6 separate regions of the Homo sapiens genome follow, and all the other regions are linked to region 1. The links are contacts of gene promoters, found by promoter capture Hi-C in blood cells and fetal thymus (Javierre and others, 2016). All regions are on one chromosome and are shown on one strand. Each heading gives the region's core, a stretch centred on a gene start or on the middle of the fragment in contact. The rest is flanking DNA. Distances are from core to core; before and after follow the strand shown.

What was found. Contacts are between HindIII fragments. The CHiCAGO score rates a contact against its expected background, and 5 or more counts as called.
Region 2: a fragment that was not itself captured here is called in contact with the fragment with the promoter of C3orf18 in region 1 in 1 of 17 cell types (total CD8 T cells); the score reaches 5.4 in total CD8 T cells.
Region 3: a fragment that was not itself captured here is called in contact with the fragment with the promoter of C3orf18 in region 1 in 6 of 17 cell types (M1 macrophages, megakaryocytes, total B cells and 3 more); the score reaches 5.5 in M1 macrophages.
Region 4: a contact is called between a fragment that was not itself captured here and the fragment with the promoter of C3orf18 in region 1, in 15 of 17 cell types (erythroblasts, total CD4 T cells, endothelial precursors and 12 more). The highest score is 20.0, in erythroblasts.
Region 5: a fragment that was not itself captured here is called in contact with the fragment with the promoter of C3orf18 in region 1 in 14 of 17 cell types (naive CD4 T cells, total B cells, naive B cells and 11 more); the score reaches 14.1 in naive CD4 T cells.
Region 6: a fragment that was not itself captured here is called in contact with the fragment with the promoter of C3orf18 in region 1 in 4 of 17 cell types (total B cells, total CD4 T cells, endothelial precursors and 1 more); the score reaches 6.8 in total B cells.

Annotation. Positions count from the first base shown.
Region 1 is chr3:50,566,203-50,569,314 of GRCh38, reverse strand. It overlaps C3orf18 (chromosome 3 open reading frame 18), which reads left to right and starts at 1,568. Exons shown (of 6, transcript NM_016210.5): 1 at 1,568-1,852. It also overlaps a transcript of HEMK1 not described here. RefSeq lists a silencer at 1,427-1,936. The HindIII fragment of the contact is 20,682 bases long and covers 1-3,112 here.
Region 2 is chr3:51,439,454-51,442,565 of GRCh38, reverse strand. It overlaps DCAF1 (DDB1 and CUL4 associated factor 1), which reads left to right. Exons shown (of 25, transcript NM_001387579.1): 8 at 669-1,181; 9 at 1,495-1,596. Among named protein-coding and RNA genes, the nearest start is that of RBM15B, 50 kb to the right of the region's middle. The HindIII fragment of the contact is 759 bases long and covers 1,189-1,947 here.
Region 3 is chr3:51,407,046-51,410,157 of GRCh38, reverse strand. The region is part of intron 23 of DCAF1 (DDB1 and CUL4 associated factor 1); the gene reads left to right. Among named protein-coding and RNA genes, the nearest start is that of RBM15B, 17 kb to the right of the region's middle. The HindIII fragment of the contact is 758 bases long and covers 1,191-1,948 here.
Region 4 is chr3:51,387,427-51,390,538 of GRCh38, reverse strand. It overlaps MANF (mesencephalic astrocyte derived neurotrophic factor), which reads right to left. Exons shown (of 4, transcript NM_006010.6): 3 at 2,661-2,802; 4 at 1,142-1,634. The coding sequence ends at 1,450. Among named protein-coding and RNA genes, the nearest start is that of RBM15B, 2.3 kb to the left of the region's middle. The HindIII fragment of the contact is 2,509 bases long and covers 194-2,702 here.
Region 5 is chr3:51,368,539-51,371,650 of GRCh38, reverse strand. The region is part of intron 49 of DOCK3 (dedicator of cytokinesis 3); the gene reads right to left. Among named protein-coding and RNA genes, the nearest start is that of MANF, 15 kb to the left of the region's middle. The HindIII fragment of the contact is 1,173 bases long and covers 1,077-2,249 here.
Region 6 is chr3:51,314,250-51,317,361 of GRCh38, reverse strand. It overlaps DOCK3 (dedicator of cytokinesis 3), which reads right to left. Exons shown (of 53, transcript NM_004947.5): 32 at 2,234-2,382. Among named protein-coding and RNA genes, the nearest start is that of MANF, 69 kb to the left of the region's middle. The HindIII fragment of the contact is 1,574 bases long and covers 909-2,482 here.

The DNA.
Region 1 (3,112 bases), core at 319-2,818:
GTGCGGGGATGTGTGTGGGGTTGACCCTTGGGGGCCCGGACCTGCCGGTCTTCCTTAAAATCACAGCAGGGATTTGGCTCCAGCCCAAGGGGATTGCTCCGAGCTGGCGTTTAGGAACCAGGCCGGGAGGTGTGTGGGCGGAGCCCAGTAGCCTGCCGGAAAGGGGGCGTGTCACCAGAGGGCCCGGGTGTTCCGGCGGGGACCAGATGTCCGGGGGCGTGGTCTATCTTAGCCTGGGGGCCGGGTGGAGCTGTGCATGGGCGGGTTCCAGTGTTGAAGGCTGGTCCAACTTTGGGGTCCAGTCCCAGTGTCGTGACCCTACCGAGGTCAGTGGCCCGAGCCCACCAGGGGGTCGGCCGACTGGCGGCCAGACCCCAGGGGCCGCTCTTTTACCGATTCGAATCTTGACTCTATTGGCAACTCCTCCAGGTGTTGGGACCTCTGGACCTCAGTTGCGCCTTCTATAAAATACTCGGCAGCGTCTCGCAAAGTGTGTCTTGTCAACATCTCCCCACCAGAAAGTACTGTTAACTAGAACACTGTTAACTACTTTTTTTTTCTTTTTTTCTTTTTTTTTTTTTTTTTTTTTGAGACGGAGTTTTGCTCTTGTTGCGCAGGCTGAAGTACAATGGCGCGATCTCTGCTCACTGCAACCTCGGCCTCCGGGTTCAAGCCATTCTCCTGCCTCAGCCTCCCAAGTAGCTGGGATTACAGGCGTGAGCCAACACGACCGGCTAATTCTGTATTTTTAATAGAGACAGGGTTTCACCATGTTGGTCAGGCTGGTCTCGAACTCCTGACTTCAGGTGATCCATCGCCTCGGCCTCTCAAAGTGCTGGGATTACAGGAGTGAGCCACCACGCCCGGCCTTAAACTGCTATTAAACATGCTGTTTCCCTGCCTCCTTCCCAGACCGGGAGACACAGGGGCGTTTGCATTTGTACCAGGCTACCCGGTGACTCCCATAAACTACTTTGAAAACCGGCGGATCAGGAGTATCTGAGGGCTCCTTCCCTGAGCTGATCATGCCGTGGATGGAAGCTATTGTGAGGGTATATGTAGACTTGCCTGGGTCGGGGTGCCCAATAATAAATCCACCCCACTCTCAACTTCTGTAGACGAAGATTCCCCATCTTCGTCTAGAACCCTCACACCAGAGGACCCGTCTGAGTAGAAAGCCAAGGTTCAGGAAGGGAAAAGCAGTTTCTTCAAGGTCACAAAGTCAGCCAGAGTTCAGTGCAGGCCCAAGGACTCCCAGTCCAGTGCTCTCCCCAAGTCTCCTCTGTACATCCATCCGCGTTTTGGGGGCTTGAGTCTGTCCTGGCACGGGTAGCTGGCAGGGGTCCCGAGTTCTGGCCCGGAAGGGCCTGGCCACCCACTGTCCTCCGCCCAACTTCGGCGCAGGCCACGGGGTGAGGGTAGTCTCTAAAAACTGCGACCAGGTTCTAGGCTCCCTCTGGGGGTGGAGCCAGACCCGAGCGACAAGCGAACGGTCCAATTCTGGGCGGGCTCTAGGCCCGACAGCCAATCGGAGGCCGGGGGCGCGGAGCGTGCAGGGAGGCAAGGCGCTGTAGCTTCGGGGATCCCCCGAGGCTGCTCGGCCCGGCCCCACCTCCGCCGTGGGTCCCGGCCCTACCCACCCTAGCTCAGGCCGGCAGAGCCAGCGCTCGCGGATGCGGCTGGTGCGCAGTAGCGGGCCTGGCCAGCGGCTCGGGGCTTGCAGGGAGGGCGGATCTCGGGTCGGACCCGCAGCCCCAGACGCCGGGCTTGGGGGTTCCCCCCGCCCCGGCCTCCTGCCAGTCACTACCACCCCTAGCCTCTCCAACTGAGCTCGGCGCCGGGAGAGGATTAAGTAAGTGCTGAGGTCACTGCTCCTGTGCAAGAAGGGAGGCATCACAGGGTCGCGGAGGCGGGCATGGGGATTGGGGCAGGGAGGACTGAGAGACCTGGTGGAGAACAGCATGCGGGTTCTCGAAGGTCGCGGTGCCGACCCCTTTTACCCCGGTTTCCTTCCCTTCCCCTTTGGACCCTGAGGCAGGCCTGGAAAGTGGTCAGTAGGGCCTCTTCTCTCCTTTGGGAGGCGATGTTAACAGAGCCCCAGGGCACGAGTTAAGGGTTTGGCCCAAGGTCACGCCCGGGATCAGTTGCAAAGCCAAGAAAAGAACCCGGGACTTCCTATGTGCCCAGATGTGCCCAGCCTAGCTGGAGGGAGAAGGCAAAGAGGGATGAGCCTTTCTACCCCATAACCCTCTGCCAGCCTTGCCCCTTCCTCAGGGACCATCAGAGGTGTTTACACATCTCACACACGCCCATGCATCTGCACAGGGAGGCAACCCCACTAATGCCCATGAACCAGCACAGGGGGATGTATGCACCCACGAGCTAGGTATCCCTCCTCTCCCTAGGCCGTCCCATCTGCAGCTTGGCTGGCACCTCTTCCCACCCCACCTTAACCAGGGCCCTCTGCACTGGGCAAATCTCTCACCCTCTGCTTCCAGGGGAGGAGGGTAAAGGAAGAGAAGGCACCCACACTGGGAGCTCCATTCCTGCCTCGCCTTTCTCCTTGACCCTAGCAGCCCCTCTATTGTTGGTGGGTGGGGAGGGCAGTCCAATGTCCCCGAGAGCCTGCGGAGAAGCCCCGCCAGAGAACCAGAGCCTCTCTCTCCTTCTTGTCTTCTGGTCTTTCCACATCAGCCTCCACCCACACTCCAAGCATAGTCTGGACCATACAGTGGACTGGGTCCAGGGGCTCCCTTGGCTCCCCTTTGTGACTGGGTTGGCCATGGGGAGAAAATCTAACATGTAGTGGATGCTTACTGTGGATGGGGGTTGTGCTGAGCTAAGTCTTTCTTCGACACCTGTTTGTTCTGCCATTTCTGTAACCCCATGACCCTGTGGGGATGTTCTCAATATCCCCACCTTAGACTCAGGAAAACGGAGACACAGAGAGGTGGAGTGACTTTCTAGGGATCACTAGTTAAGCAGCTGAGCTAGGTTTCAAAGACAGGCCTGTCTGACTCTTGGGCAAGTGTTTCCCTCCAGGAAAGGAAAAAGCTGTGGTATTTTTTCCCCCAAGCAGGATGAGGGATGTGGGAGGCAGGGAATGAGGAGG
Region 2 (3,112 bases), core at 319-2,818, 870 kb before region 1:
CTCCACACCCTGGAAATTTTTTGTATTTTTAGTAGAGACGGGGTTTCACCATGTTGGCCAGTCTGGTCTCAAACTCCTGATCTCAGGTGATTCGTCCATCTTGGCCTCCCAAATTACTGGGATTACAGGCGTGAGCTACCGCACCTGGCCATCCCTCTCTCTTTAAAATGAAACACAGTACCACTTTATAGCGTTGGCCCAAAAAGTATGTACTTAAAAAAGAACTTGAAAAATGATAATGTAGTTATGTATAATATACATGGCAATATCTAATGGAATACAACCTACAGTAGATAAAAGTTTGAGAAACTTTCATGTTTGGTTTTCAAAGACACATTAGAAAAATCATGAATATATCTAATTTCTGCCTCTTCAGGTGTGATGGTCCAGGTCAACTTGACCCAAACAGATCAGTTGTCAATGATGTATTTTATGTGCAAATCTTCTGGTTTGGATTCTCTGGAAAATTTTATGAGGAACAATACTTAGCTGTTACTTATTTCATCAACTTATAGGAATCAAAGCAACGCATTTATCAAATTGTTGCTATTACAGGCGTTGGGCTCACTGCATGAGTCTCCAGTTATTATGTGGAAATAAGAATTATTAAGGATTACTTAATCCTTAATAAAGAGGCACCCCCTTTTTCTCCAATTATCTGTTGATAGGTGGCAATAGTGCTTCGAAGACTGAGGGAGCTACAGCTACAGGAAGTGGCTTTGCGGCAGGAAAACAAGCGTCCCAGTCCACGGAAGCTCTCTTCTGAACCCCTTTTGCCTCTGGATGAGGAGGCTGTGGATATGGACTATGGTGACATGGCTGTAGATGTAGTGGATGGAGACCAAGAGGAAGCTTCTGGAGACATGGAGATCTCCTTTCATCTTGATTCAGGCCACAAGACTAGTAGCAGAGTGAACTCAACAACCAAACCTGAGGATGGAGGATTAAAGAAAAACAAGTCAGCAAAACAGGGTGACAGAGAGAACTTTAGGAAAGCCAAGCAAAAGTTGGGTTTCTCATCTTCTGATCCAGATCGCATGTTTGTTGAGCTGTCTAATAGCAGTTGGTCAGAAATGTCTCCCTGGGTGATTGGCACCAATTATACCCTTTATCCTATGACTCCTGCTATCGAGCAGCGACTCATTCTCCAATATTTGACCCCTCTAGGAGAATATCAGGAGGTAAGCTTATTGGGAAGAGTACTGTTCACACATAGGAATTATTGTGTTCATTTCTGTGGTATTTTATGGTAGTATTTTATACAAAGATATATTCTAACTCTACCACAAACAAGGGTTTGCATGAAACTGTTCAAGTCTTATGCAGGTCATTCCTGATATGGTCTATTTGATTAAAGTGCATTTACACGTTTATCTTCACAGGGAGGGAGGAAGAGGTGCATCATTTCTTTAGGCTTCTATCCTCAAAGAGTGGAATAGGAAATACATGACAATAAAGCCAAAATTTAAGACTTGTATTTGGTGTTCATTTCAGCTACTTCCCATATTCATGCAACTTGGATCACGGGAGCTGATGATGTTCTATATTGACCTGAAGCAAACTAATGATGTCCTGCTTACATTTGAGGCACTAAAGGTAAAGTTCTTAAAAATATTGGGTCACCGGGGATTTTTTAAAAACTTTGTTTTTTTTTAAATTTAAGATGGAGTCTCACTCTGTCGCCCAGGCTGGAGTGCAGTGGTGCGATCTTGGCTCACTGCAACCTCCGCCTCCTGGGTTCAAGTGATTCTCCTGCCTCAGCCTCCCGAGTAGCTGGGATTACTGTCACATGCTACCGTGCATGGCTGATTTTTATATTTTTAGTAGAGATGGGGTTTCACCATGTTAGCCAGGCTGGACTCAAACTCCTGACCTCAAGTGATCTGCCCGCCTTGGCCTCCCACAGTGCTGGGATTACAGGCGTGAGCCACTGCGCCTGGTGAAGCTTTACTTATTTATTTTTAGAGATAGGTCTCACTCTGTCACCCAGGCTGGAGTGCAATGGGGTGATCATAGCTCACTGTGGCTTTGAACTCCTAGGCCCAAGCAATCCTACCTCAGCCTCCTGAGTAGCTGAGACAAGTGCATGCCACCATGCTTAGCTAATTTAAAAAAAATTTTTATAGAGATAGTCTTGCTATGTTGCCCAGGCTGGTCTTAAACTGGACTGAAGCAATCCTTCTGCTTTGGCCTCCCAAAGTACTAGGATTATAGGTATGAGCCACCATACCCTGTGTCACTGAGCATTTTATTGACAGAGATGTGCCTGTGTGTTTTAGCATGTAATTTCTCTGCATTTTATTGCTCAAGTTATTTCTATAGCCAGATGCATCAGAATAGTAACAATCAAAACATTCTTGTTTAGATAGAAGAGAGGAGGCTTACTATCTCTACAGAAACTTAGGTGTTAATCTAAAAGGCTGAACGTTGAGATAAAAAGTGAATCTAGACATGGGGTGGCCTCAGTTGTTGCTGAATAGGAGAGGAAAAACTATGAAATAGTGCTTGCTTATGCCCTACTTTTTAGATATTACCTGTATCAGCTAACAACAATTTTTTCTTTTTTTCTTTTTTGAGATGGAGTCTCGCTCTGTTGCCCAGGCTGGAGTGCAGTGGTGTGATTTCTGCTCACTGGAACCTCCGCTTCCTGGGTCAAGCAATTCTCCTGCCTCAGCCTCCTGAGTAGCTGGGATTACAGGTGCCTGCCACCATGCCTGGCTAATTTTTTGTATTTTTAGTAGAGATAGGGTTTCACCATGTTGGCCAGGCTGGTCTCAAACTCCTGACCTCAAGTGAACCACTCGCCTCAGCCCCCCAGAATGTAGGGATTACAGGAGTGAGCCATCACGCCTGGCCACAAAAAAATTTTTTAAACTATGTACATATTGTATAATGTAAAATTACCTAGGATTAACAAAATAGAAACCAGAAAATGAGTAATGAAATAGCAGACAGAATTAGCTGGGCATGATGGCAGGTACCTGTAATCCTAGCTACTCAGGAGGCTGAGGTGGGAGAATCGCTTGAACTCGGGAGGTGGACGTTGCAGTGAGCAGAGATCGTGCCATTGTACTCCAGCCTGGGCAACAGAGTGAGACTCTGTCTCAAAAAA
Region 3 (3,112 bases), core at 320-2,819, 840 kb before region 1:
GGCTGTAGAGTTTGAAACAACTTCACCAAATGCTGCCAAGGATCTGCTAGTGTAGAAAGGCTTTCCTTTACTGCTTTCCAGCTATATGGGCTCTATAGGGGCCTTGGTTTCATGGGTGAGAGGAGCCAGCAGTGTCTAAAGCTCATGTGAGTTATGAGATATGGGTAGAAGGGAGAGGTTTTCCAGTGGATACTTGAAATCTTTGATTTATTTGTGACATGGATTTTAGTGTTTTCTTGAGTGCTGTGCTGTTACAGCTTGTACATGTTTCTAGTCTTTCTGGGTAGCAGAGCTTGGTATTAGGTCCTCCAAATTTCATGTGGTTGCCTTGAGTGGGTTTCTTAATACTGCCTGTTCTTTTATTCTCACTTCAGTTTGCTACCTTAGACACCTCACTCCCTTAATGCCTACTTTTTCACATTAGCTATCATGAAACAAGATGTAGTTTATTCTTGAGTCCATACAGAGGGTGCAGTTGTCAGGCCATTTGCGCGTACATTACAATGGTATGGGTGGCTGTCGACTGCTTTGTCCTCCGTGGGTTTATTCATCACTACCAAGTATCAGTTCTGAATCAGGCTTCTTGGATGTTACATGTTGAAGCATAAATCTGAGGCCAAAACTGGATTGTTTGTCAACATCATTATCCCAGCCCTCCCATATCCGTGCATTTAATAAGGCAGTGGGCGGCAGTCTTCTCTGGGAACCATCACCTGGGTCCATGTGATGCCTGGTGTCTGTCTTTGAGGGGGAGGTCAACTCAGAGGAAAGTTGAGATTGCCCTAGACACCTTGGGAGTTGGAAGGCTATTCTCTGGGTTCGCCTTATTCTTGCAGACATGGAGTGGTGAGAGGCAAAGGCACTGGAGGTTGGTGGCTGGCTGTGGAAGCGAGAGGCCACCATAAGGGAATAATTTAAGAGTTATACTCCTCTTATCCCACTCTCTCCAGGAAGGCTTGGGTCAGGGAAAAGACTGACTAATTCTTCTTCTTTTGTCCTGCTTAACTTCTGAGAAGTTAAGGGAGAAAGAGATTAGGAAGGGCATATGGTAGTGGTCAGGACTTTTGACTTGGATGCAGGAAGGAAAGCAAGAGGCTGCCTCAGCGTGACAGCCAAGAGTGAGAGGGGCAGGGTCAAGAGGGCTCTAAGGAGTGGCTCTGGAGCCCAGCCTGTAGAAGAGCCGGAAAGCTTTCTAGCTCAGAGAAGACTAGGTGGCAGGGTAGGTGTGCAACATGGCTAAGTTATTACTGTGGCTTCCAGATTTCTTAGGATCTAGGCATGTTTCACTCCATACTGATATTACAGCTTTTATTGATCATCTGGTGCATTTCATGTTTGAAGGACCTCTGTTAGAGAACTGCTTATCCCCTCAAGCCCTTGGCATTTTGATTTTTGATTTAGAGATGTTTGATTTAGAGATACGGGATAATACCGTATCTATTTGAGTAGGTCTCTTTTGTAACCTTAATTCTGTTGATCCATGCTCCTTCTAGAATCTTGTGGTGGAGTTTGGCTGTTTTTACTATCTCCATCAGATTTCTGCCTACTGCCTCTCATGCACAGTGTGCCAGCTTGAATTTTTTTTAAACTCACTTTCCTTTGTAGGAAAACCAGTCTCTAGTTTTACTTTGCTTTGTACGCTTCACCTGATTTTAAAACTAGAGACTTTTCATTTTCCTATGAATCATTTGCTATTCAAAGTTTTGTCCTAGTCTAGATATCTGTTCTCAGGTCTTCTCAGATGTTCCAGATATGACTTATGTGGCTCAGGGATACAGGCACCTGTGACCAACACCTTTGAATTTGCCTTTTCATTATAGCAAAATAAATTCAGAAGCCTGAATGGTCAGCCGTCATCTAATAAAATGGTCCAGCATAAAGAGCTTTATCGAGATATAATTGACATGCCATAAAATATTTGTCCTTTGTCCTTATGCTTAAATAAGCTTGGAGATTAAGAGGAAAGGATGAAAGGTACAGCTAGCTGTATCTAGATGAATGAAAACCTAAACAATGTATTGGACACCCATAAATATTTGGTTCCTGAGGCTGCTAGTCTGCCTGCCTTCAGGCATTTGATGAAAGCAGAGATAAGCTAGTCACCTATCACAGCTCATTATTATCCATTAGAAGTTTGGTATCTGGTTGTTTTTTTTTTTTTTTTTTTTTTTTTGAGATGGAGTCTCGCCCTGTCACCCAGGCTGGAGCGCAGTGTTGCGATCTTGGCTCACTGCAACCTCCACCTCCCAGGTTCAGGCAAATCTGCCTCAGCCTCCCTGAGTAGCTGGGATTGTAGGCGCCTGCCACCACAACCGGCCAATTCTGTATTTTTAGTAGAGATGGGGTTTCACCATGTTAGCCAGGCTGATCTCGAACTCCTGACCTCAGGTGATCCGCCCACCTCGGCCTCCCAAAGTGCTGGGATTATAGGCATGAGCCACCGCGCCCAACCTGGTGCCTGTGTTTTTAGAAATCAGTTCATTCATCTTTGATTTGACTTTTAGAAAAGTTACAAAACCCAAGATAAGTAATTGATCATTGCTCCTAGATTTTGACAAGCCAATACATTTTAGCTAATTATACTTAACCTTAAATTTATAATAAAAAACTCAACAAAGGAATAATGCTCTCTGTTTTCCACTCCATTTTGGAGTCTGGGACACACTGTGTGCTGTGCTTCCTGTGTGTTCTCCACTGCCTAGAAGCGGATGTTAAGAGTCTTTACTGATTACACACACCTGGTCAGAGCTGAATGTGTTGATTCCTGAAAGGCCTCATTTTCTTAAAGAATTGAAATGTAACTTGAGTTAGATTCTGCCATTGAGGAAAGAAAAACAAACATTTATGACCCTAAAGTGAACCTATAGCCTTTAAGGACAGAAAAAGTATTTTTTAAAAAGTAGGCATTTATACATTTAGCAAAATATGACATGTTACATAAAGGTCAGGATCAGATTTGAATGACGGTTTTGTTGTTGTTTTTTTTTTTTTTTTTTTTTGAGATGGAGTCTCACTCTGTCTCGCCCAGGCTTCCGCCTCCTAGGTTCAAGCAATTCTTCTGTCTCAGCCTCCCAAGTAGCTGGGACTAAAGGCATGTGCCACCACACCCGAC
Region 4 (3,112 bases), core at 199-2,698, 820 kb before region 1:
GCTGGAAAGGTAGGGCCGTAAGAGCCAAGGATGAAGAGGCCATATGCACAGATAGTGCCAGCAGTTATCACACCTTGCCACGCTGACCCCTCGCTGGCCAGTACCCTCCTGTTCATCACCTTCAGGACGACCTCTTCTCCCCAGGTGAGGTGAGGGAAAGGGTGCCCAGGTGCTCAAGCCCATTGAGGAAGCTTTCATTCTCCAAGGACAGTTGCTGGAGCCATGGTAGAACCTGACCCAATTTCTGGCACAGAATCCTTGCGATGGGGAAGAGCAGACCAAGTCATGCCCTCTTCGCACAAAGAGAAAGCAGCTCCTGGAGTAGCTCAGGCAGGTGCAGGGGGAAAGGTCTTGGAAGAAAGCAATGGGTTCCACAGCAGCAAGGCCTCCTACAGGCAAACTGAGCTTAGGAGACACAAGTGAAGTGATCTGAGGCAAGACCAATTACTTGGAAAGCACTGGTTCTTAGTCCGTCCTTTCAGGTGGTTTCTACAGGTGTCTTCATTGAGCCACAGCTCACACTAACAACTGGGTTTCCTAAGCACCAGTGCCACAGAGAGTGGCTTAAGAAGCAGACTCCAGCAAAACCCTGGACCTCAACTGTTAGACTAATCTAGGGTAAACAAAGGCAAAAGGCAGCTTCCCACTCCCTCTTTGTATAAGCTGACTCCTGCCAGACTTGCAAAAACTGGAACAGACATCAGAGGCTTGGAATGGACAAAAGAGCAAGTAGGTGGCCAGGCCAACAGCATCTTTATAGAGATGTCAGTGCTGACGTGCACTGATTGAAGATATCCTTGTGGAAAAACCACACTCCAGACACCCTGTCTTGCTTGTACTGAGCCACAATATAAGGCCCTCCAATGTATCCCAGACTCACTCCTCCTAGAGCTGTGGCCTCCAGCTCTCTTGGGCGGGTAAGACAGATACTGTATCAAGGGGCAGGGTATCAAGCGCAGCACCCCCCGCCCCCGCCACCTCCTTTCTGCTGAGTGCCTGCTGCCCTCTAGTGGTACACACCCACACACATCAGCTGGCCCCAGCCCCTATGTCCTGCTCTGGTATTTTCAGCACTGGTGGGTTGAGAGATAAATGGGAATGAATAACCCCCCAAACTCTGCAACTGGAAAGCAGAAACTGGTAGGAGCCTCCTGGGGCAAAACCCCATTTTGGTATTCACTATAATTCTGCAAGGACAGCTAGAAATTTTTTTTCTTTAATAAAAAAATCCCAGACACACTTTGAAGTCCTAGAGTACACCAGCAACAGAAGGAAGGGAATCCCCTCATGGGGGTACTGTAGGGCCAGCATCATCAGGAAAGCTCCAGGCTTCACATCTGATACAGTATTGTCAGGAGCCCACTTAAAAAATAAATTACAAAAAGGCTGTTTTGGGAGTAAGCAGTTGAACTGTTTTTTCCCCCTCAGGTGCAACAGAGATTGAGCAGACTACAAATCGGTCCGTGCACTGGCTGCCTTGGGGGCATATTTAGGCATCAGTTCATTTATCTTCCGGATGTAGTCAGACTTTTCTGCACAGCCTTTGCATGTCTCCCCCCAGTCATCCAGAATCTTCTTCAGCTCTTTAACTCGGAGCTTCTTCAGGTCCACTGTGCTCAGGTCGATCTGCTTGTCTGGAGGAGAGAGCAGGGAGAGTCACTGACTGGGTGGAGCACCTGCAGTCCCCCAGTAGTCCCAGAGTATGTCACTCCCTGAACGGCCAAACCAGCCCTACTGGTTTCAGAGGAAGAGACATTTCCAGACACATTTACAGGCATGTCAGTGCCTACTGCCCCCACAAGAGGGAACTAGCCTCTTCACCAGGAAGGCTGGCTACATATTATGTCTACTACAGATATGCAGCGTGAACAAGGATAGGGACAGAGGCCACACTGTCCTTATAGGAGAAACATGGTTCCCATCTTCCAAGTGCCTCTGACATAGTCACCACATACTAACAACTCCAGGCTGGTGCCAAAGAGCAGCCCTGCTCAGGCCTTTGAGTTAGGAACTTACTCTCCATGACCACAGTGACCTGGAGCCAACTGGACCTGTACCAGGAAGACGCAAGTAGGTGAACACAGGTCCTTGGCCATTCAAGTTTTTCAGAAGAGGCCCTGACTGTTTCTGAAGACTGGGACTATGTACACCAGAGACCCAGTCAGCAAGAGAGATGCTGTAGTTCCTAACTCTTGGGCTTGCATGCTTGGACATAGTGTTTCTTTTCAGAATAGTAAAAATCACTGGGGCTTCAGAGCTTGCAGCCAGAACCAGCCTGTTAAACCCAAGTCGTACTATGTCCCTTCTCTGCTGAAAAACTCCTAATGCTCCTAACTTCACGCAGATTAAAAGCCCTCACCAGCCTGCAATGCTCTCTGACTTGCCATGCCACTGGACACCTTTATCCTGCCTGTATCCTCTTCCATTAGCTGGCCTCTTGGCTAATCCTCACCTCCTTCAAAGTTTGCTGAAATATCACTTCTTCAATAAGGCCTATTCTGACCTCCACCCACTTCCATGCCAGAGCCCTCCAGCATTTAGCACCATCTGTCATACAATACAACCCACTCATGACTCTAGCTCATCATTTTCCTCTCCCAGATGGGAAACAAACCCAGAAGGTGCACAGCATTCATTAAGAAAGGACTAGGCATACTCACCATACTTAAGCTCACATATCTGGCTGTCCTTCTTCTTAAGCTTCTCACAGATCTTCTCCACAGGGATGTGGTGGGCCAGAGGCTTTGATACCTCATTGATGATTTTGGTGGCTGCATCATCTGTGGCCCCGATATAGTAGCACTGGAGCAATAAAGGACAATGGCCTTCAGGAGGTGCTTGAGAGCCATCTCCTCCAAACATACTGACACCTTGAAACATCATCTCTCTGTAGGGCCTTACTTGTGTTTTGAGATAGGGCTCCCTGTCACCCAGGCTGGAATGCAGTGGCATGATCACGGCTCCCTGCAGCTTCAATCTGTTGGGTGGTGATCCTCCCCTCTCAGCCACCCTAGTAGCTGGGTCTACCGGTGTGGGCCACCACACCCAGCTAACTAAAACAATTTTTTTTTTTTTTTGAGATAAAGTTTTGCTCTGTCACCCAGGCTGGAGT
Region 5 (3,112 bases), core at 414-2,913, 800 kb before region 1:
TTACGAAAGCTTTCCCCTCCCTGGTAATACCAAACACAAACTTCAAACAGAGTGGACTGTTTCCTCCCTTCTTTGCCCAGAGTGTATCTACTACAACATCTATTACATACATTTGAAAGTATCAGTCTTTCTCTATGATGCCATGTCACACAGACCCTTCTATTTTGTCTCCCAGGGCCTAACACTGTGCTTGATAGATGTAGGACCTGCACCTTTCTCCAGATGAGCCTGCACATGGATGGTATGGAAGTTGTGGTCTAGAAGGGACTTGCTTTCTTTCTTACTGCCTCTGATCTTGTCACTGTTCTCTTTGGGCCCAGTTCTGTTTAACCATTTTGTTTATTTTTGCACTTAATGTTTACCCCCAAAAGGGAAGGGGCTTCTCTCAGCCTTCCTCTGTGTGATATTCTGGAGTTTGGCCATTGTGACAGCTCATCTCCAAAAATGGTGACCATCAACACCTTCTGTCCCAAAACACACACACCATTCCTTACAACATGAGGTGTAATCTCATTCCTCTTTCTGGTATCTGGGTTGACATTAGTGACTTGAGGAGACTAGAAACGTGGGGACTTCCTGGGACATCCAAGGCTGGGTAAAAACGAGCCTTGAGGCTTCTTCCTGGGTCTCTTGGAATGCTTTCTCTGGGGAAAATCAGCTGCCATGCTGTGAGAAGCCTAAGTCACATGGAAAGGTCATATGTAGGAGCTCAAGTTGACAGCCCCAGTCGCACCCCAAGCTGACCACCAGCATCAATTGCCAGCCATGTATGTGAGCCATCTCGAATATCTAGCCCACCTGAGCTTTTAGATGATTCCAGCCAGTGACATCTGACACCAAGTGAGAATTGCTCAGTGAGCCCTGTAAACCCACAGAATAAGAGATGATAATAGATTGTTTTAAGAAGTTTTGGGGGTGGCTTATTATGCAGCAACAGATAACCAAGCCATTTGAAGTAAAAATGAGTTATTTCCAGACAAGAAGATAATTTCTCTCTATTCAGCACTGACATAGTGCACCACCTGCCCCCGTGGCAAGAGCCATGCAGGTTCCTCACTGAGCATTCAGTAAAAGCTTGATAAGTGAATAAATCAGTCAACGGCTGGAAGGAAAAGGTGGTAACCGCCAGCCTGTGAGGTCCCCAAGAGCAGGGCCTGCTTATTCCTCCTCTTTCTTCTTTTCAGGACACTAAGTATCTGGAACAGCCTAGAGGAAGTGTCTGACCAATGTCAGAGTGCATTTGAGTTCAAATGTCCATCCTTGGTTGCCTTCTGTGTTTATCAATCATCATGATTCAGAGATCTGTCCTCAGCAAGAATACCAGATAAAGTCTTAGATATGTCAGAACATATCTTAGAGACGCTTTAGGTTAGGGAAAAAAACAAAACCAGAAGGGATTACAGAAACTGTTTCTGCAGCTCTATTCAGGACTATTTACCTGAAGACACTATAAATGCCAACCTTGACTGTGGCACTCATGGCTCAGGGTTTCTTTTCTTTTTATTCCCAAGGCCGTCTTTCAGTGTGCCTTCTTGATAACACATATCACTGCTCCTTCTCTATGTCTGCAGCTTTCACATACTGACAAATCTTCAGCATGCACCGATCTTTTGGTTCATTTGTCCTATTTAGTACTAGAAATGTCTGCTTTCAAATGCTGGCTCCCCTTTTCTGACCTCAGAGTCCATGCTAGGGAGGCAATATGGGCAGTGGAATGGGCATGAGAGTGAGGGCTGGTGAGTGTAAAGATCTGTGCCCCAAACTTAGCTTGGCTGTGAACTGGCTAGGTGGCCTTAATTCCCTTGCCCTGGAAATGAGGGCTTGGTCTGAATACTTCAGGTGAAGTCTGACTGTGCCTGCTGCAACCTTACTCCACTTCCCTCTACAATCTGCCAAGGCTTTTCCCAGGTGGTCACTGCATCTTTTCACTGTGCCATACAGCAGTCACTCCTACTGTGGGCTTCTCTCCATCACTCCTACTGTGGGCTTCTCTCCATCACTCCTACTGTGGGCTTCATGGGTTTGTGTGCTTTAGAGAGCTTCTTTTCTTAATGACTTCCCAAGTCATACATTTGTGCTATTACACCAATCAGACGTAGATTTTCACATAGTCCCATATTTCTTGGGGGCTTTGTTCATTTCTTTTTACTCTTTTTTCTCTAAACTTCTCTTTTCGCTTCATTTTCATTCATTTGATCTTCAATCACTGATACCCTTTCTTCCAGTTGATCGAATCGGCTACTGAAGCTTGTGCATGCATCACGTCACTCTCATGCCATGGTTTTCAGCTCCATCAGGTCATTTAAGGACTTCTCTACACTGTTTATTCTAGTTAGCCATTCATCTACTCTTTTTTCAAGGTTTTTAGCTTCTTTGCAATGGGTTCAAACATCCTCCTTTAGCTCGGATAAGTTTGTCATTACCGATCATCTGAAGCCTTCTTCTCTCAACTTGTCAAAGTCATTCTCCATCCAGCTTTGTTCCATTGCTGGCGAGGAGCTGCGTTCCTTTGGAGGAGAAGTGCTCTGATTTTTAGAATTTTCAGCTTTTCTGCTTTGGTTTCTCCCCATCTTTGTGGTTTTATCTACCTTTGGTCTTTGATAATGGTGACGTACAGATGGGGTTTTTGTGTGCATGTCCTTTCTGTTTGTTAGTTTTCCTTCTAACAGTCAGGACCCTCAGCTGCAGGTCTGTTGGAGTTTGATGGAGGTCCACTCCAGACCCTGTTTGCCTGGGTATCAACAGTGGACGCTGCAGAACAGCAAATGTTGCTTTCTGATCCTTCACTCTGGAAGCTTTGTCTCAGAGGGGCACCCTGCCATATGAGGTGTCAGTCGCCCCCTACTGGGAGGTGCCTCCCAGTTAGGCTCCTGAGGGTTCAGGGACCCACTTGAGGAGGCAGTCTGTCCGTTCTCAGATCTTAAACTCCATGCTGGGAGAACCACTACTCTCTTCAAAGCTGTCAGACAGGGACGTTTAAGTCTGCAGAAGTTTCTGCTGCCTTTTGTTCAGCTATGCCCTGCCCCCAGAGGTGGAGGCTACAGAGGCAGGCAGCCCTCCTTGAGCTGCAGTGGGCTCCACCCAGTTCGAGCTTCCCAGCCGCTTTGTTTAC
Region 6 (3,112 bases), core at 446-2,945, 750 kb before region 1:
CCTAACTTTGAATACAAAGTTTCAAAGGTCTTTTTTCTTTTTCTTTTTTTTAAGCTTCTCCTTGTCCAAACCCATTTGTTTTTCTTTTTTTTTTTTGGCAATTGGTTTTTGACCAAGGCAGAAAGACAACTGAAGAAAGGATACTCTTTTCAACAAAAGATGCTGGAATAATTGGACATCTTGTTGCAAAATAAAAAAAAGAACCTGATCCATCCTTCATACCTTATACAGAAATCAACTCAAAATAGATCATAGATCTAAATTTAAAATGTAAAACTATAAAACTTCTAGAAGAAAAGACAGGAGAAAAATTTTTGTGGCCCTATGTTAAGAAAAAGTTCTTGGGGTATGACCCCAAAAGCATGATCTATAAAAGAAAAACATTGACAAACTGGACTTCATAAAAATTAAAAACTTTTGTTCTAAGAAAGATATTGTTTAGTAAATGAAAAGATAAGCTAAAGATTTGCAGAAAATATCTGTAAATCATATGCTCAACAAAGGACTTACATACAGAATATATAAAGAACCCTACAATTCAACAATAAGGAAAGCAGCAACTCAAATGAAAATGAACAAAAGCTTTGAACTCATTTTACCAAAGAAGCATAAAGATGGTATATAAGCATATGAAAAGATGCTCAACACCATTAGTCACTAGGGAAATAGAAATGAAAACCACAATGATATACAACTACACACCTATTAGAATGGCTAAAACAAACGAACAGATAATACTAAGTACTGGTTAGTATGCGGAGCAATCGATTATATACTGCTGCTGAGACTTCAAAATGGTATAGCTATTTTAGAAAAGAGTTTGAGAACCTCTTCGAAAGCTAATTACACACTTGTCACAAGGCCCAACAATCCTATTCCTAAGTATTCACTCAAGAAAAATGAAAGCTTATATGCATACAAAAACCTGTAAAGAAATGTTTTTAGTAGCTTTATTTATAATCCACAAAAGAGGAAATAACCCAAATGTCTTTCAAATGGTGAATGAATGAACTAAATACTACTCAGCATAGAAAAGCTACTGATACATGCAGTGACATGGATTAATTTCTCAAAGCATTATGCTAAGTGAAAGGGGCCAGTCTCAAAAGGCTGCACTTTGCTTGATTCCATTTATATGACAGTCTAGAAAAGGCACAACTATAGTGATGAAGAGCAGACCTATGGTTGCATTTGTTAAGAACAGGGGAAGGGTTTGACTACAAATAGACAGCAAGACTGAATTTTTAAGTATTCAAAAACTCTTGATTGTGGTAGTGGTTACACGACTATGCATTTGCCAAAACACATAGAACTGTAAATCAAGAAGAATACATTTTACTCTATGTAAATTTAAAAATAAATAAATATTTAAAAATTACTGTTTGCCTGGTCTACTTCTCACTGTTACAGTCACCTATTCTAAATAGACCACTGGTTCATCCCAGAATCACAGGCTCGGAAGGAGCTTAGTGGGGAACTGGTACAATTCCCAAGCCAATACAGAAAATTCCCCTAGAGGTTTCCTGGGAGCTTCTGCTTGAAGATCATCTGCCAAGAGAGAAAATCTCTATCTCCCAAAGCAGGCCTGCTTACAGTGGACAGTTTTTGCTGTTAGCAAGTTATTTATTTGATTAGCTAAAATTGGCTTCCTCATCATTAGCCCCTATTGGTCCTGGTACTATCCCCTGGAGCTACAGATATAAAGGCAGGGGCCATCTCCTACACTTAGTGGTGGCAAAAGAACTACACAGGAGGACAGCCTGAAGCCATTCAGTTGGAAGCCAAGGGGCCTGTATCTCCTGGACCAACCCCTCTGTGCAGTAGTCTATAAAATGCTGGGCTACCCTGAGCCATGAGAAGTCATCTGGTCTGGGCTGCAGCCCTAGAAATGCCTGGATTATACAGTGAAAATCCTCAGTAAAGGAATGACATCACACTCCCAGGGCCCTATCATGATTGAAACTGGGAGGCTACAGTCTCAATCATTCCTTGATCAGAAAGTTATAGTGATGTTCATTCTTTCCTGGCCTCATTATTTTCTGGCCTCTAACTTCATGGAGAAAATCCACAAATCAATTTTGGCCAGCAAGTAAGGGAAAACCCTTGAACAGGATTCAAATTAGCCAAACTACAGCCCATCCCCACTAGAATCATGGCTTGGTCATCTAGGCCACCTGCCTAAGCAGAAGGGATCCATTCCAGAGAATACCCCGAACACTGCCAGGTGTCTTACCTGTTTGAAGTTGCCATTTTTTCTCTGCTCCCAGTCCATCATGTCATGAAAGATGGGAATCATGATATTCCGTACTTCTGGCTGTGGGACCAGTGTCACACCCAGAAAAGGACCAATCATTCCCGGAATAAAGTGGATCTTATGTTCACCTGAAAAACAAAACCCAAATTAGTTTATGCCTGCTTTGCTCCTTCCATGGAAGATTCCCAAATGGGGCCACAACACATGCTACAATCCATACTGGAAGCTTCTGAGAGCAAAACAAGCTCTCCCCTATGGTTTTCTGAGGTACTCTCCCTCAACTTTTTAGAGTTTATGGATAAAGTTGGCCTAGCCCAGTGAAAGCAAATGCGCAACTGTCACAAAACTGCTTTTCCAAAGAATTTCCTGACAGTCCCACAAACTACCTGAAAATCTCTCTGAGATGAAGGAACAGAGTTTGCTACTCTAGACAGAATAGGTTTCTGAGTAACCTATGAGTGTCAGATGGTCTATTCACAGTGTTTATTTAACAAGAAAAACCCAATATTTCTGCTTAAATACAATGCACTCTCCTTGGAGTTTCTAGCTCTAGCCCAGAGACATTTAAGTGATGAGGATATCCAGTCCCTGGTCTAGCCACCAGACGTCTAATAAGTCCATGGATTTTTACACTGCCTATGTTCATGTATGCCAAAGAAGTCCTCCTCCTGAGCTAGCAGGAGTCTCCTGCACAGCCCTACCCTAAAAGGCTGGCTTAGAGATTCTCTCTTTACCCACCCTGAACTCCCTTTGTGTTCATATTGCATTTCTGATGGTGCCATTACACCTACTTGGCTCAGCTCAACCCTCAACTTCCTTAATGAAGCATTTCCATGGTAAGTGTGTGATGTGGGTTTC